Linked DNA regions of Homo sapiens: region 2 is linked to region 1. The links are contacts of gene promoters, found by promoter capture Hi-C in blood cells and fetal thymus (Javierre and others, 2016). All regions are on one chromosome and are shown on one strand. The core of a region is centred on a gene start or on the middle of the fragment in contact, and the rest is flanking DNA. Distances in the headings are between cores, read along the strand shown. Region 1 holds the start of RBMS2 (RNA binding motif single stranded interacting protein 2). Region 2 overlaps BAZ2A (bromodomain adjacent to zinc finger domain 2A).

Region 1 (5,467 bases), core at 2,209-4,708:
TGGACTCCAGCCTGGGTGACAGGGTAAGACTCTGTCTCAAAATAAATAAATAAACAAATAAATAAAATTTAACTGAGTATGGAAAATACACAAATTACATAAGCAAATGCATCTACAACCCTTTCCAAAACAGAAACACAGTAAGCCCTACTTGACAAGACAAAGAGCAACGTAATAATGCTATAGTTTAAAAACACCCTCCCTGGTCATCTAGTGTTGAGGAAAAAAATTAAGTAAAATAAAAATAAAAATATGGGGCCAGGCGCAGTGGCTCATGCCTGTAATCCCAGCACTTTGGGAGGCCGAGGCAGGCAGATTACCTGAGGTCAGGAGTTCAAGACCAGCCTGACCAACATGATGAAACCCCGTCTCTACTAAAAATACAAAAAAATTAGCTGGGCGTGGTGGCGGGCACCTGTAATCCCAACTAGTCAGAAAGCTGAGGCAGGAGAATCACTTGAACCCAGGAGGCGGAGGTTGCAGTGAGCCGAAATCACGCCACTGCATTCCAGCCTGGGCGCGACAGAGCAAGACTCCATCTCAAATAAATAAATAAAAATATGGGCCAGGCTTGGTGACTCAAAGTATAATCTCAGCACTTTGGGAGTCCAAGGCAGGGCAGATCACTTGAGGTCAGGAGTTTGAGACCAGCCTGGCCAACATGGTGAAACCCCGTCTCTACTAAGAACACAAAAAAATTGTCCGGGTGTGGTGGCACTCCTGTAGTTCCAGCTACTTGTGAGGCTGAGGCAGAATTGCTTGAACCTGGGAGGCGGAGGCTGCAGTGAGCTGAGATCACACCACTGCACTCCAGCCTGGGTGACAGAGCGAGACTCCATCTCAAAAAAAAAAAAAGTAAAAATAAAAATATGAAAACCCTCCACGTTCACAAACTTATATAGGCACAAAAGGAGTCATATGCATGGCCACAGAGTGATGCACAGATACAGCATCCTTACATCTGATCATAACATTGACTTATAAGAACCCAAAGAATTGACAAATACATTAGTAATTAGTAATTATGTATCTACCTATCCTCCCCAACCAATTCCAACAATTCCTGAATTGTCAAACCTTACTAAGAGATTTCAACCCAAACCCACAACCATACCTCTTGTCCCCTATACTATCCTAGATTTAGAAGCTAATTAACTTTTTCCTATACTCCAAGGTGGGAGAGGGAGCAGAGAGCAAAAAGAGATTTTTAGATAGCTTCAAATACGTGAAACCTCTAATAGGGAAGCAATTCATTTTGGGAATTCATTTTATTTTAATGAGTTCTGGGTAACCTGAGAGAACTAGGAGGGAAAAAAATCAGGAAAGAAATTTTCACATGGTACTCTACAAGGTTTGAAAAGAATAAAGACATGTGAAATATTTCCCTTTCAAATATATACGTATAATATATAATGTATTATCTATACATATATTTGATAAAGGGATGTCAGTATATGTACATATAAACATATATTGATAACCAACAAATGTGTATAAACTCATATTTCATTTCTTTTTGAGATGGAGTCTTGCTCTGTCACCCAGGCTGGAGTGCAGTGGCACAATCCTGGCTCATTGCAACCTCTGTCCCCCAGGTTCAAGTGATTCTCCTGCTTCAGCCTCCTGAGTAGCTGGGATTACAGGCGCGTGCCACCAAGCCCAGCTAATTTGGGGTTTCACCATGTTGACCAGGCTGGTCTCGAACTCCTGACCTCAAGTGATCCACCCACCTTGGCCTCCCAAGTGCTGGGATTACAGGCATAAGCCACCATGCCCAGCCTCATTTCTTTTTTAAAGTAAATTTTATTGTGTATATTTAAGGTATACAACATGTTACGGGATACATATAGATAGTAGAAAGGTTACTATAGTGAAGTAAATTAATCATCCCACATAATTGTCCCTTTTGTTTCTTTTTGTGGCAAGAGGAGCTAAAGTCTGCTCATTTAGCATGAATCCCATATACAGTACAACTTTATCATCTATAGTCCTCATGTTGTACATTGGATCTCAGGATTTGTTCATCCTACATATCTACTACTTTGTATCCTCTGACCTATAGCTCCCCATTTCCTCTCCCCTCTACCCATATTTCTTCAGGATATAAACAAAATGAGTACCACACAGACTAAGCCCATAAATCAACATTAAGTGTTTTGGGTCTAAACATTTACCCACTGCATTGATCAGACACTTGTGTTTAAATCCACCTCTAATGGTCTCATTAGGTACATGAGAAAGCAGCAGGAATCGTTCCTCACCCTCCAACATTCCATTAGATGAGCAAAAGATTCCCTAAATGTCTATGTCACATTTTTTCTTCAAAGAACAGCTACAACACAAAGAGAGGGTAAAGAGTCTTCTTCCTGCTACAGCATGAAATTCCTCCTAATCAGTATGCTGTGCGCCCTGAAATGCCAGAAACTGCCAAATATATTCCTTGTCAAATATGGACAAGATTGTCCATCTCTCCCCATGTGCCCAAGGACAGCACAATTCTCTGGCAGCCATGGGTTAATCATAAAGACTCCTAGGATCACTGCAAAGTCTGGCTATCTGCAGAGGTCCAAGTATCAGTTCAAATACAAGATCCAAAGTATCACAGCGCTCTGTGCCTTAATCCCAAGGTGCGATGTCTCTCAAGACTCCTTCTCTATAGGCTGGGTGGGGTAGGATCTGTAGTCTAGAAGAGTATACCCAGCTCTTGATAAACTGTTGTGGTTTCTCTGACTATCTATGATTTCAGCTATCTAATACTACTGGTGGTATGGGTAGGAGGGAAGGTTGGGGAGAGAATGGAAACAGTTAATCAAAAAATAAAATAATCTTGTGGGGTGGGGTGGACTGGGGGACAGGGTCTGAAATGACATATTATCCTTGTGGAGATTGATACATCAGCAGGAAGTCAAACTAACTTCATTTCATAAGGATACAAACTTGCAAGCTTGATTTGTTTTTAATTCCCCTGTCTTTTCAGGCCTCGCAGAGACTGAAAGTTCCCTGAACTCCAGAACCAGTTGAGGAAAGATGCAGAAAGCAGTAGTGGAAAAGGGAGAAGCGCGGTGAGGAATTAGGAATCTTGAGAGAGGAAGCCCCTTCCCCTCTTTAAAAAGAATGTAAAAACCAAGGGCATTGCAAGATCCCCAGAAAAAGAAGTAGCTAGATACCAAAAAAGCGCTTTTCCCTACCTTCTTGTTGTTTCTATTGTAGCCAAAAGTCGAAATCCCGGGCCTGGAAGTCACGGATAGCAGCATTTTCTCTTTAATGTTAGGGAACGAGCGAGAGAGAGAGAGAGAGAGAAAGGGAGGGGGTAAGAAAGACGGGGAGGGAGGGAGGAGGGGAGCGAGGGAAAGGGGGAGAGGGAGGGAGGAAAAAAGGGAGGGGGAGGAGAAAGGAGGAGAAAAGGAGCAGGAGGAGAGAGATGAAGGGGGGCTGCGGGCAGAGAATGAGCTCGGGCTGCTCCTTTACGTCACTGAGAGAAGTTAACAGAGTCTGAATGAGGCAGAGGCACTTCCACTGGGTCCTAATGCCCAAGATGTTTTTTTTTGTTTGTTTTTCATAGTCTCAGGAGTTAAAGCTAGAAAGAAGAGTTCTTAGGTCTAACCCCTTTCAAATTTATCCCCTTTCCTCTATGAACAAGTTCCGATTCTCATATAAAGACAATGAGGGCTTTATTTCCACCCTTAGATCTCAGCTATAAGATTTCAAGCTTGATTTTAAAGGGGCTCCTGAGACATTGCCTTGGAGAACACGCAAAAAAAAAAAAAAAAAAAAACAGAGTTAGAGTGTGTGAGATAAGCTCAGGGCTTCCCCTACTTTACACTTACAGTGATTTTTTTTTTTTTTTTTTGAGACAGAGTTTTAGTCTGTCACCCAGGCTGAAGTGCAGTGGTGCAATCCCGGATCCGGCTCACTGCAACCTCCACCTTCCGCAATTCTCCTGCCTCAGCCTCTCGAGTAGCTGGGATTACAGGTGACCACCACCACACCCAGCTGATTTTTGTATTTTTTAGTAGGGACGGGGTTTCGCCATCTTGGCCAGGCTGGTCTCGAACTCCTGACCTCAAGTGATCCACCCACTCAACCTCCCAAAGTGCTGGGATTACAGGCATGAGCCACCACCCCTGGCCCATTTATAGTGATCTTAATGTACAAAGGAACAAACAGAGGAACACACCAAAGAGCAGAGCTAAGCAAAACAGAGTATGGGGTATAACTAGTTTCAGATCCTTAGATGTGTTTCTCTTGGGTCATACCAATGGGCTGATGCCCCTCACTCCTATTTCAGATTCTCCGAGGAATGAGTTCATACTTAAGAAGGAATTATCAGACTGGACTATATCATGAAACTTGGTGCCTTGTTATTTCTCTAACAATTGCAGGCTATCTTATTTAACACTTTACCCTGCTATTTCCTCATCTTTAAGATCCATGAAACTGAAACAATTACAGTAACTCACCAAACCTGGAGTTTATGTCTAAATTGAAGTCTACAGTTGGGATGTCTGCTTTGAGTTGTCTTTGAGCTGTTTAAAAAAAAAAAATACTTAAGAAGCATATGCTTCAACAGAATAAAAACACAAAATTCTTAGGAAGGAATACAAATTTCAGAGTCAAGAACCTAATAGAGTTGCAACACTTACCTCTACTAGTTTCCAAAGAATGTCTTTGTAGGCGTAACCTTAACAAGAAAGGAAACCAAAAACTTAAGAATGATATCCAGTAACCCCTACCAATCCAAGTGCAATAGGGATGTTAAATGAAAGCCTTCAAATCCCTTCATAAGGCCACCTTGCTGCCATCCTAAGTAGTTTCTTGAGATATAAATTAACCCTGTCTGTTTTGTGACAACAAATATTAAGCCCAAACCCTCCCTCAAATGAAGTTCTGGTCTCTATTCTAGTTTCCGTGTCACTTTTTTGCTATGATAATGGAACAGACAGTATTAGTATTCTGCAGAGTAAATATACATACCCTACCCCCAATCTCTAACTTTCATTTCCAATAGGACAGGAAGTGCCTGCTCAGCTCAGGGGACACAGGAAGGGTGGGAGAGCCTCAGTGTGGGAATTGCAACTGAGACTGGAAACACAGCAGCCAAATGCAGTAAATAAATAAATGAAGGCATCACTCAGTGATATCTTTTTTTTTTTCTGAGACAGAGTCTTGCTCTGTTGCCCAGGCTAGAGTGCAGTGGTGCTATCTTGGCTCACCGCAACCTCTGCGTCCCGGGTTCAAGCGATTCTCCTGCCTCAGCCTCCCGAGTAGCTGAGACTATAGGCATGCGCCACCATGCCCGGCTAATTTTTTTGTATTTTTAGTAGTCTTGTTGGCCAGACTGGTCTCAAACTCCCGACCTCAGGTGATCTGCCCGCCTTGGCCTCCCAAAGTGCTGGGATTACAGGAGTGAGCCACCGCGCCCGGCCCATATATATATATATATATATTTTTTTAAGTCCTTTTTCTG
Region 2 (5,467 bases), core at 1,430-3,929, 100 kb before region 1:
ACCTGGCACTACAGGCATATGCCACCATGCCTAGCTAATTTATTGGCTTTTTACATTATCAGTACTTCCCTATTTTCAGGCCTTATTTTCTTCAAGGAATGGCTATTTAAGTACGTCAAGATTTGAGGCCTTTCTTCTCTCTTGAAATTTTTATCTCTGTGAAGAATGAAGCTGAGTTTTTTTTTTTTTTTTTTGTTCTCTGAAAATAGTAAGAGCAAAGCCCATGACCTTCATTGGATAAGTAAGCTGGTAGTGGCAGAAAAGGTAGATTTACTCATTCATTTCTTCAGTCCATGGACTCAACAAATATTTCCTTTGGTTCTTTTGTATACTTAGCACTAAATTAGGTGCTAGGGATATAATGGTGGAACTTATATCCAACTGATGCTGTGGAACCGACATAATGTAGAAGAAATAAGGACAGAGAACAGTCATCTTTGAATTCTTCTGAACAGCCTGGACGTGACAGTTTTCTTTGAGTAGCCCCCTCTTAGTATAATCTTCCTTCTTTCATTATCTTTGTTCTGCCTCACTTGGAGTCCTGACTAGGGAAGGTAGTTAAGGAGAGGATGGATATTTTGAGCCTCAGTCAGTATATGATATAGTTTGTCCGAGTCAGAGTTCAAGGGAAGCTTGTTACTAGGGCACTCAGAATGGGTTATCGTGATTGGAGAAGAGGGCATATTTATTCTGTGGCTTGGTACTTGGAATTTTTTTTTTTTTTTTAGTGTAGAGATAGGGTCTCACTGTGTTGCGCAGGCCAGTCTTGAATTCCTGGCCTCAAGTGATCCTGCTGAGGTTATAGGCATGAGCCACCTCTCCCAGCCTACATGGAACTCTTATTGGTGGAGGAACATGGCTTAGCCAGGGAGATGAGGTTTTTAGATACAAAAGCCAAAGCGTCCTCATTTGCAGTGTCAGGAACTGGGAACAGTGAAAACTTGGAACTTTCCCAAGGTGTGGGGCAGGAATGGGACAGCTTTTACATTAGAACAGGGTTTCTCAGCCTTGGCACTATTGATAACGTGGGCCAGATAATATCTTCGTTGTGGGGGGCGCTGTCCTGTTTGTTGAAGGACGCCTAGCAGCATCTTTGGCTTCTGCTTACTAGATGCCAGTAGCACATACCTTCAGAGATTACTAAATGTCCCCTACGGGGCAGAATTGCCCCTGATGAGAACCTCTGTATTAGAGTGTGGTGGGTAATCCAGAGATGTGTAGAGTTAAGAAATATCCTTCATGATGTTCACAATTACAAAGCTAAAATGTAGTGGTGTGATTTTTACTCTAGAATTTGCCTTTGCTGTTTAGTCAAGATAAACATTTGAAATCTCTCTCACCCCCCAACCCCATTTGTGAGATTTTGATGTACTACATGAGAAGAATGAACCCAAGAGCTGCAGGGACCACTGCAGTATCCAGCTGGAGGGTGTTAATGTGTCTTGTTGTCCTGGGGGGTAGCCTCAGAGGCTGGAGGGTTAGAATTGGTCAGGGAGGACACCTGTAACAGTGTTGCAATATATAATATTTATTTCAACACTTTGTGCATTGTCAGCCTTTTTCTTTTTTTTTTTTGAGATGGAGTCTCGCTCTGTCGCCCAGACTGGAGTGCAGTGACGCGATCTCGGCTCACTGCAACCTCCACCTCCCGGGTTCACGCCATTCTCCTGCCTCAGCCTCCCGAGTAGGTAGGACTACAGGTGCCCGCCACCACGCCTGGCTAATTTTTTCTATTTTTAGTAGAGACAGGGTTTCACCGTGTTAGCCAGGATGGTCTCGATCTCTTGACCTCGTGATCCGCTCACCTCGGCCTCCCAAAGTGCTGGGATTACACGAGCCACTGCTCTTGGTGTTGTCAGCCTTTTTCTATTAAACCATGTCACAGGCCCACAGAGTAGCAGCTCTTTGATTGGAACTGGGAGAAAAGCAACCTATTCGGCCCTGTGGGGAGGGCTTTATTGCTTCAAGCTTATAGGGCAATGTCCCTTACTCTTATAAATGAAACATAGGAGCTCTTAAAAGATCCATTTATGTATAGCTGGGACTGGGCTGGGTGCTTGAATGAATGTACTTCCTGGTATGAGAGTCATCTGCTACTCTAGGGGTTGGGCACTGGCTGATTTCTTTTCTCATTTGGTGAAAATCCTATTAGTTCAAAGGGAGATGCTCTCCTTTGCTTTACTGTTCTTACTAGCTCTGGATGGGAGGACAGAGTTTACCTTTAGGGTTTATTGTGAAAAGCATCTTGAGTAGGAAGGTTAAAATGAAATAAACCTAGGTTCATTGTTGAGAGGAGGTGTTCACATGTTTTTCGTATTCCCATACTGTGACATAATTAATTCCCATATTTAAGTGACATCTGAAATCAGGAGTCAAATTGTATATAAGGAAGTCTGGCTGGATCATCCCTAGTTTTAAATTATATTTATTTTATATGTAGACCGTTTAGACCTGATTATCTTTTTTTTTTGGAGATAGAGTGTTGCTCTGTCACCCAGGCTAGAGTGCAATGGTGCGATCTCAGCTCACTGCAACCTCCATCTCCTGGATTCAAGCAATTCTCCTGCCTCAGCCTCCTGAGTAGCTGGGATTACAGGTGCCCGCCACCACGCCCAGCTAATTTTTTGTAATTTTAATAGAGATGGGGTTTCGCCATGTTGGCCAGGCTGGTTTCGAACTCTTGACTTCAGGTGATCCACCCACCTTGGCCTCCCAAAGTGCTGGGATTACAGGCGTGAACCACTGCGCCTGGCCAGGCCTGATTATCTTTTTGAAAACTACACAGTCTTTTACTGTTTGTCTAATAATAGTAGCTAATGTAGTCCTGGTAAGGTGGCTCACGCCTGTAATCCCAGCACTTTGGGAGGTCAAGGTGGGAGAATTGCTTGAGGCCAGGAATTTGAGACCATCATGGGCAACATAGCGAGACCCTGTGTCTACAAAAAAATTTAAAAATTAGCCAGGTGTGGTGGTGAGCACCTGTAGTCCTAGCTACTTGGGAAGCTGAGGCAGGAGGATTACTGGAGCCCAGGAGTTCCAGGCTGCAGTGAGCTATGATCATGCCACTGCACACCACTCTGGATGACAGAGTGAGACTCTGTCTCAAGAAGAAAAAAAAAAAACTAACGTTTATGGAGTGCTTGCTGGATGACAGACACTGTGCTGGGGCTCTAATTTAGATTTTCTCATTTCATCCTCACCAGTCCTTAAAAGTGGGTACAAAAATTGTTACAGATGATGAAACTTAGGCCCAGCAAGTATAAGTAACTTGTCCAAGGTTAAACAGCTAGCTAGTAAATAGTAGAGTTGGGATTTGAACCTAGAGCCCACTACATTGTGCTGACCACATTGCATAGCACAAAGACAATTTTATGTGTCTAGGAAGCTTCTCGTAAATGAAGTGGTTGTGGTTCTGATGACAGTTCAGAAGAGACAGGTGGAGAAACTGATCTCACATACTAAATAACTTCCCATTCTTTTTAATTCTCTGATTTCTGTGAGCCATCGACATGTTGTTATTAATATTTACAAAAACAGGATATGCTGTGCTTTTCCAGAGCAGCAGAGAGGAGGTCACAACTTTGTTCTTGGATTCAAATAGAGAATGGAAAAATGAACCGTGACCCATCATTGAGGAGGATATAGTCCACTGCACATAGGATGGAAGTTGCATGTATCCTCCACACCAGGGGAGGTGTACAAAAAACTGGGGAGAGGAGAGGTGAGGATCAGATGAAATTGGCCCTCTAGGCATAGTATTTCCAGGACTTCTGAAGTGAAGAGTGTCCTCCTTGCTCTGTGGTATAAGCTTTGGAAGGAACCTAACTGGAGACTAAGGAATGAACTTTCCTTTAATTCTTGCACTTAAGAAGGATTATTAATCTCATGATGCTTATCTTTCAGACCCCCTACTGCTGAGGAGTAGCTGTTAACTATACTAGGGAAATCCTGACTGGGCGCAGTGGCTCATGGCTGTAATCCCAGCACATTGGGAGGCCGCGGTGGGTCGATCACTTGAGGTCAGGAATTCAAGACCAGCCTGGCCAACATGGTGTAACCCCGTCTCTACTAAAAAGATAAAAAATTATCTGGGCGTGTTGGCGGGTGCCTGTAATCCCAGCTGCTGGGGAGGCTGAGGCAGGAGAATCGCTTGAACCTGGGAGGTGGAGGTTGCAGTGAGCCGAGATCACACCCTTGCACCCCAGCATGGGCAACAAGAGGGAAACTCTGTCTCAAAAAAAAAAAAAGGAAATCCTGGAGGACCCTGTGTGTTTTGTTTGTTTGTTTGTTTTGTTTTGTTTTGTTTTTTTGAGACAGGGTTTCGCTCTGTCACCCAGGCTGGAATGCAGTGGCATGATCTTGGCTCACTGCAATCTCTGCTTCCCAGGCTCAAACAATCCTCCTGCCTCAGCCTCCCAAGTGGCTGGGACTGCAGCTGCTCACCATCATGCCTGGCTAACCTGGGGTCTTTTCACTATAAAGACTCCATTTTTTCACTGATGCATGGCAGGTTTAGGTCTGCTACTTAATTTAGAGCAAGCTTGTCCAGCCCACCCAGGACAACTTTGAATCTGGCCCAATACCAATTTGTAAACTTTCTTAAAAGATAACATGGAGATTTTCTTGTGATTTTTTTTTTTTTTTTAAAGCTCATCAGCTCTCATTAGTGTATTTTATGTGTGGCCCAAGACACTTCTTCCAGTGTGGTCCAGGGAAGCCAAAAGATTGGACACCCCTATTTAGACTAAAGATGAGATATCCTATATGGGAGATAAGTAAGTCCTAAAAACTTTTTCCCTTAAATCAACAAATGCACATTGCTTTTAGTTTTTAGAGATGGGGTCTTGCTATGGTGCATAGGCTGGACTTGCACTTTTGGGCTCAAGTAATCTTCCTGCCTCATCCTCCTGAGCAACTGAGACTACAGGCAGGAACCACCATGCTCAGCTAACTTTTTTATTTTTTGTGGAGACAGAGCCTTGCTATGTTTCCCAAGCTGGTCTTGATCTCCTGACCTCAAGTGATCTTCCTGCTTCAGCCTCCTGGAGCACTAGGATTACAGGCATGAGCCACCATGCTTGGCCTATTTTTATTTTTAAAATTTCAGTTAAAATTGATTAAGATACAGACAATTCCCACATACTATGCAGGGTTTATATATCATGCTCAGACTTATGTTATATTCACATTTATACTAATGGTGTCTAATTTTAGTAATGTAGCATATTTATGAATGTAACTCTTGCAGACTTTGGCCAGTGGGCATATATATTCTTTTCTTTTCTTTTTTTTTTTTTTTTTTGAGACAGGGTCATGCTCTGTCACCTAGGCTGGAGTGCAGTGGCATGATCATGGTTCACTGCAGCCTCGACCTCCTGGGCTCAAGTGATCCTTCTGCCTTAGCCTCTCGAGTAAGCTAGGACCACAGGTGTGCCCCACCACACCCTGCTCCTTTTTTTTTTTTTGA

What was found. Contacts are between HindIII fragments. The CHiCAGO score rates a contact against its expected background, and 5 or more counts as called.
Region 2: a fragment that was not itself captured here is called in contact with the fragment with the promoter of RBMS2 in region 1 in 1 of 17 cell types (endothelial precursors); the score reaches 7.5 in endothelial precursors.

What each region holds. Positions count from the first base shown.
Region 1 is chr12:56,519,811-56,525,277 of GRCh38, reverse strand. RBMS2 (RNA binding motif single stranded interacting protein 2) reads right to left here and starts at 3,458. Exons shown (of 14, transcript NM_002898.4): 1 at 3,189-3,458. The coding sequence starts at 3,254. RefSeq lists an enhancer at 2,280-3,023. The HindIII fragment of the contact is 765 bases long and covers 2,947-3,711 here.
Region 2 is chr12:56,619,344-56,624,810 of GRCh38, reverse strand. All of the region lies in intron 1 of BAZ2A (bromodomain adjacent to zinc finger domain 2A), which reads left to right. Among named protein-coding and RNA genes, the nearest start is that of BAZ2A, 8.2 kb to the left of the region's middle. The HindIII fragment of the contact is 1,417 bases long and covers 1,971-3,387 here.